Linked DNA regions of Homo sapiens: region 1 is linked to region 2. The links are contacts of gene promoters, found by promoter capture Hi-C in blood cells and fetal thymus (Javierre and others, 2016). All regions are on one chromosome and are shown on one strand. The core of a region is centred on a gene start or on the middle of the fragment in contact, and the rest is flanking DNA. Distances in the headings are between cores, read along the strand shown. Region 1 holds the start of XRCC4 (X-ray repair cross complementing 4). Region 2 holds the start of SERINC5 (serine incorporator 5).

Region 1 (2,700 bases), core at 133-2,632, 2.8 Mb after region 2:
GCTCAGGCGGAAGAGGCTGCATGTCCCGTCTGCCCTTCTCGCCCTCTCCAGCCGTCCGGTTGGGCTTGTCACGGCACCGCCTACCAAGACGGGCGGTTAAGACACTAGGATAGGCTCCTCTCCACCGGAAAAGGCGGGATTTAGATCACGTCCCGCAGGCCGGCGGAAGTAGCTGATACTCTCATTGGTTGCAAAACCTTGATCTGTGAAAGCGGGCGTTTTGGAAGATACCGGAAGTAGAGTCACGGAGAGGTAGGATCCGGAAGTGGGGCTGCCTCTTTAAATAACAAAAATCTGAGGTTCTGTTCTTTTTATCTTTTTGCTTTCTTTTTAAAAAAGTTCCCTGCTACTTACCCCTAGAACTCCACAATGCGAGAATCCCCCTCAATTTGTGAGCTCCCGCGACTTCCTCTTGTGGGCTTTTGGGGATGCTAGGGTTCTCGGCATTATCCTCAGGGTGCGACCTGTTCACCCCCTTTTCAGTTTCTCCGTTTGCATCTGAGGGATTCTTGGGAATGCGAAGCACTTTTGAAATGCTCTGTGTTGGTTGTGGGATTGGGAGGACGGTTGAATCCAGAGGGTAGTGTTGAGTAGGCTGTTTGAGCATTTCCCCAGCACTGGCCTGTCCTTTCAATCCCCAGATATTGGTAAACTGTGGGTTCCAACCAGGCATCGAGGCTGAAACGTACTAGGCAATTTGAGGTCAGGAAAGAACTTTCTGTGGTAACCAATGGGAAGGAACTGCCGTTTGCGGACTGCAGCGATTGATTAGGTACTTTAAAGAGATCAACTGGCAAGACAAATGACAAGGCAACTTTTAATCAGTAGTAGTATTTAGCTTTTTCTGATTTTAATTATCCCATTAGGTGAGGTTCTACTACACACACACGTTTTTCTTTCTGCATTTTATCGATGGAGAAACAGGCGCTTTGACATGTTTGAATTTGCGTAGTTCTTGGAATTCTAATAAAGTATTAGAAATGAGAGTTTTTCACTCTTTGCCCCCTTATGGCAAGCTTTTGGTTCTAAATGTGTGGTGTATTTTTTCTCAGGCAGGAGAGAGTTCTTTTCAGAATGTTTTCAATTTTTTATGGACTTAGAAGGTGGATAGAGAGAAAGAGAGAAGGTAACTCACGTGAGATTTTGGTTTATGAACTGTATTCGGCCTATGAGACCCTTTTGTATTTAGGGCAACACAATGATTAGAAGATTTGGGATTCTGCTATTTGTGTTTACATTGTTCACTAGGGCACACAAAGGTTTTGTTTTAAACTATAACTAACTTGATATTTGAGTCTGTTATATTGAATTGTCAAGAGTTGGTCAAATACACAAATTAGCAAGTATTTACTGGGTGCCTGCTTTATTCATGGATCTTCAGATTGCAGCATAGGAACAAAGATGGTCTGTTCCTTTAAGGAATTTAATAAGGTTGGGGGAGAGGGGAATAAGAAAGGTATTTAAAAGATACAGTACTCTCCACCTAAGGATAAAAAAAGTCTTTTAATGTTCTGTCTTGTAATTCCTTTATATTATACCTTTTAGGTCTTGCCATTCAAATTAAACAAACCTGGTTTAGTTATGGAAATTATGTTGTGCAATTTATCGAGCTTGGCTTTTAGGGCAGTAAATGTGTCTGTAGACATAACTGCCCTTGGTTTCATGTGAAGATTGTCTTGATCTTTGTTACATATAAAGGTAATACTTCTGTATGAAGCTCTGCTTCAGGCTACCTGTGAAAAGCATCAGAAAGCTTAACTTGTTAGAGATCACAATTGATTTGCTATATCTATATATTTTAATTAATTTTAGGCTATGACTTCTTATGTACCTGAGCTTCAAAACAGTAAAGAACGGCATTGCCAGTTTTTAAGTTATCTATAGAGAAACACATATGCCAATAAATGAGGCTGAACAAATATGTATAATGTTTATTGCATTTATGTAAAACATCAAAGTTAATCTGACGTGGTGAGTTTTTTTTGGGAGGTGGTAGTTTAGCTCCATTGTCTTACATAAACCCCCTACTTTTTGGTTTTCAGATTATATCACAATTTCTAAAATCTTTCTGGCAGCTTTGCAGTGAATCCTCATTTAAAACCATCTTGGATCCTTTCCTTACTAGAAATAAAATCTGTCTGTGTTATTCCTTTGTTCAAAAATTATTATTTATTTTTATTTTTGAGACAGGATCTTGCTCTGTTGCCCAGGGTGGAGTGCAGTGGCACAATCATGACTCACTGCAGCCTCAACCTCCAGGGCAGAAGCGATCTATCCTCCTCCCTCAGTATCCCCAGTAACCGGGACCATGGTTGCATGCCACCATACTTGGCTAATTTTATTTTATTTTTTGTAGAGACAGGGCTCACTATGTTGCCTAGGCTGGTCTCAAACTCCTGGGCTCAAGTGATCCTCCCGCCTCGGCCTCCCAAAGTGCTGGGATTACAGGTGTAGGCCACCGCACCACGTCTGGCCTGTTCAAAAAGTATTATCTCACCTGCATCTGGAAGAATATTTCCAACTTTGGTTTCATGGGTATATTAAAATCGTATGTAAAAATAGTGGATATTTGTAGTTTTCTGTGGCGCCAGTGCACAGGTGTCCTCAGTGTTATGAGGATTACATGAGTTATTACAAGTAAATCATCTAGGCAAATGTTTGGCATACAGTAAGCACTCAGAAAGTGTTGGCTATTACTGT
Region 2 (2,700 bases), core at 147-2,646:
TGTTCTCAAATACCTGGTAAGGTGGTGACCATTCTCATTCTCTTTCTCTCTCTGCCTGACACAGGGAAAAAAAATCATTTCGTCTCAGTCGTCAAAAGCCTCAATTTCCTCAACTCTGAAAAGGCCAGCTTTAATGTATGCCAAGCACAGTATTAGACCTCAAAAACCAAGACAGCTCCACGTGGCCACTCTAAACAGGACAGATTATCTGCCAGTATAATCGCCGGTTACAGAAACCCACAGTTTAACCACTCCATCACTTACAGCTGGCCTCGATTGTGGAAAGGCTGAGTGTCAGCAAGAACACCCCGAACCAGGATGCTCCCTAGAGTCTGATTCGTTCGTGAAAACACTCCATTAAAACTCTGTACCGAAACGCTGATAATCCACATGTAAAGGGAGAAAAGAGCTCCACATCCAAGAGACTCACCTACTTCGTTTTTTCTAACTCTGCAGGAAGGAGTGAAACCAGCATTACAGGGCTAAGACGTACTAATTCTACACTGATGCAGTAACTGGTAGGAGACATAATGTTTTAAGACATCATAGGTTTAAATAGGCGAGAGTTAAAAAACAGGTTCGAACAAGTTTATTTGCAAAGAGAGGCAGGAAGGTTCCAGCCCTACCCAGGCAGTCGTGCTAGTACCGAGCCAGGGTTGGGTCGGGAAATTCAGGAAGCAGGGCTGAGTTTTCCCTTCGCCCAGACCTGCGCCCGGTAGTTTGGAAGTCAGGCTTCGAGACATTCTCAAAGGTACAGAGCCCACGCTCGACTACGAGATGCCAAGCGCAACCTGCCTGGGTTGTTTGACCCGAGTTTTATTCAGGGCATAGCAAAGGAGACGGTGCCTAAACCCACTTTTCTTCCTGGATTCATCCGACAAGCAGAGTGGAGAGGGCTACGGAGCTCAGCGCTATTCACCAGTGCTCGGCGCAAGAGGCGACACGCCCCTGGAGCAGTCGGGATCCTCCGCCCGAGCCCGGCACGCCCCGCTCCACGCGGAGTCCCGGAGGCCGGACGGGAAGACCCCGGGGTAGCCTCTCGGGCTTCCCCCTGCCCCTTCCCGCCCGCCCAGGGCACAGGATTTCCCGGACGGCTGAGCGCCGCGGGGCCAGCCCGAGCGACCCACCCGGGCCCTACGTTCGGCCGCGGAGCTGGGAGCGCACCCAGGCAGGTCCTCCACGCCTGGACTCCTGGCCCGGTTCTCCGATCTGACAACCCCCGCGCTGCGCCCGGCCTCGCTCACCTGGCCCGCACAGCACTGAGCTGACATCGCGGCGGCCAATGCCGAAGGCGCGCTCGCTGGCTCCCCGCGCCGCACGGGCCCTCCTGGCTGCCTCGCGCCTCGAGCGCTGGGCTCAGCCGCAGCTCACACTTGAACGAAGATCAGCCTCGGCGAAGCGCCTAGGCGCCGAGGCCTGGGTAAAAACAACTGCGGCCAAGCCCCGCCCCGCCGCCGGCCCCGCCTCGCCCGCCCCCAGCCCCGCCCCGTGCCCGCCCCTTCCCGGGCGCCCGGCGGCGGAGCAGGCTCGACCCGGGCTCGCACTTCCGCTGGCGTCAGGCGGGTGGGCTGCTGCGATCACTTCCCGGTTGGGGCGCCGAGCTCCGGAGTCGGCCGCCAGCCTTTGGGCCCCACGCTCCGGGTCTGGTGCGCGGTCTGGCCGCGCTCGGGCCCTCGCCAAATGAGAGCGCAGCGCCTCTCCGCCTTCGGATCCAGAGAAAGAGCTTGTTGCTGCCTCTAAAAGGTTGGAGCCTTAGTAAGCGGTTCCTGCCTTTCCTGCACAGACCAGACCGCCGGGTGCTGGTCTGCGCTCTGCCGCGCGCCGACTGGGACAGCCCACCCACGAGATCCTTGTTCCTGAAATCCCTTTCCTTCCCTCATCTGCCAAGAAAACTTTCAACTTTTGGGCTCTCCGCGCCTCCCAAGCTTCCTCGAATCCCTGGGCCCTTGACTGTTCTGCCCTGATGGCACTTGGTGAGAGATCCATTGAGAGCCCTTTCCGTGCCTTCCTGAATATTGATATGTTTTCCAGCCTCTCCTCCTGCGCTGGCCCAAGGACTCATTTTCCGTCCCTGCTTCCTCACTAAAAAGAGGGTGCCCAATAATTGCTTGTTCCATACAGAAGGCAGGGAGGCCGTCTCTAGGTTTTCTCCCACTCAGATCTGCTGTCCTCACAGCCACCTCCCCAAGAGGAATGAAGGTATTTCTTTTTTTTTTTTCTTTTTTTTCTCTGAGACGGAGCTTCACTCTGTCGCCCAGGCTGGAGTGCAGTGACGCGATCTCGGCTCACTGCAACCTCTGCCTCCCGAGTAGCTGGGATTACAGGCGCCTGCCACCACGCCCGGCTAATTTTTTGTATTTTTAGTAGAGACGGGGTTTCACCATCTTGGCCAGGCTGGTCTCGAACTCCTGACCTCAGGTGATCCGCCCGCCTCGGCCTCCCAAAGTGCTGGGATTACAGGCGTGAGCCACCGCGCCCTGCCGGAATGAAGATATTTCTGTTAGTGCGATTTTTGCGCCAATCCCTTTGCTCTTTCAAATAAGCATTACCGTACCCATTTTAGCGGTGAGGCAACTGAAGCCCAGAGAGGTTAAATAACTTGCCCAAAGCCTCACAGCAAAGTTGAGGAAGTAAAACTGGGCCTGGAATCCACTCGTCTGATCCCCTGGCACATGACGCAAGGCTTGACCTTAGAGGGAC

What was found. The method cuts DNA at HindIII sites, captures the fragments that hold promoters and counts their contacts. A CHiCAGO score of 5 or more calls a contact.
Region 1: a contact is called between a fragment that was not itself captured here and the fragment with the promoter of SERINC5 in region 2, in 1 of 17 cell types (total B cells). The highest score is 6.4, in total B cells.

Annotation. Positions count from the first base shown.
Region 1 is chr5:83,077,364-83,080,063 of GRCh38, forward strand. XRCC4 (X-ray repair cross complementing 4) reads left to right here and starts at 184. Exons shown (of 8, transcript NM_003401.5): 1 at 184-252. It overlaps TMEM167A (transmembrane protein 167A), which reads right to left and starts at 31. Exons shown (of 4, transcript NM_174909.5): 1 at 1-31. RefSeq lists enhancers at 1-112, 1-38, 113-1,078 and a silencer at 99-188. The HindIII fragment of the contact is 737 bases long and covers 1,015-1,751 here.
Region 2 is chr5:80,254,652-80,257,351 of GRCh38, forward strand. SERINC5 (serine incorporator 5) reads right to left here and starts at 1,397. Exons shown (of 12, transcript NM_001174072.3): 1 at 1,245-1,397. The coding sequence starts at 1,271. RefSeq lists silencers at 880-1,159, 1,270-1,709 and enhancers at 1,563-2,496, 2,497-2,700. The HindIII fragment of the contact is 9,277 bases long and covers 1-1,923 here.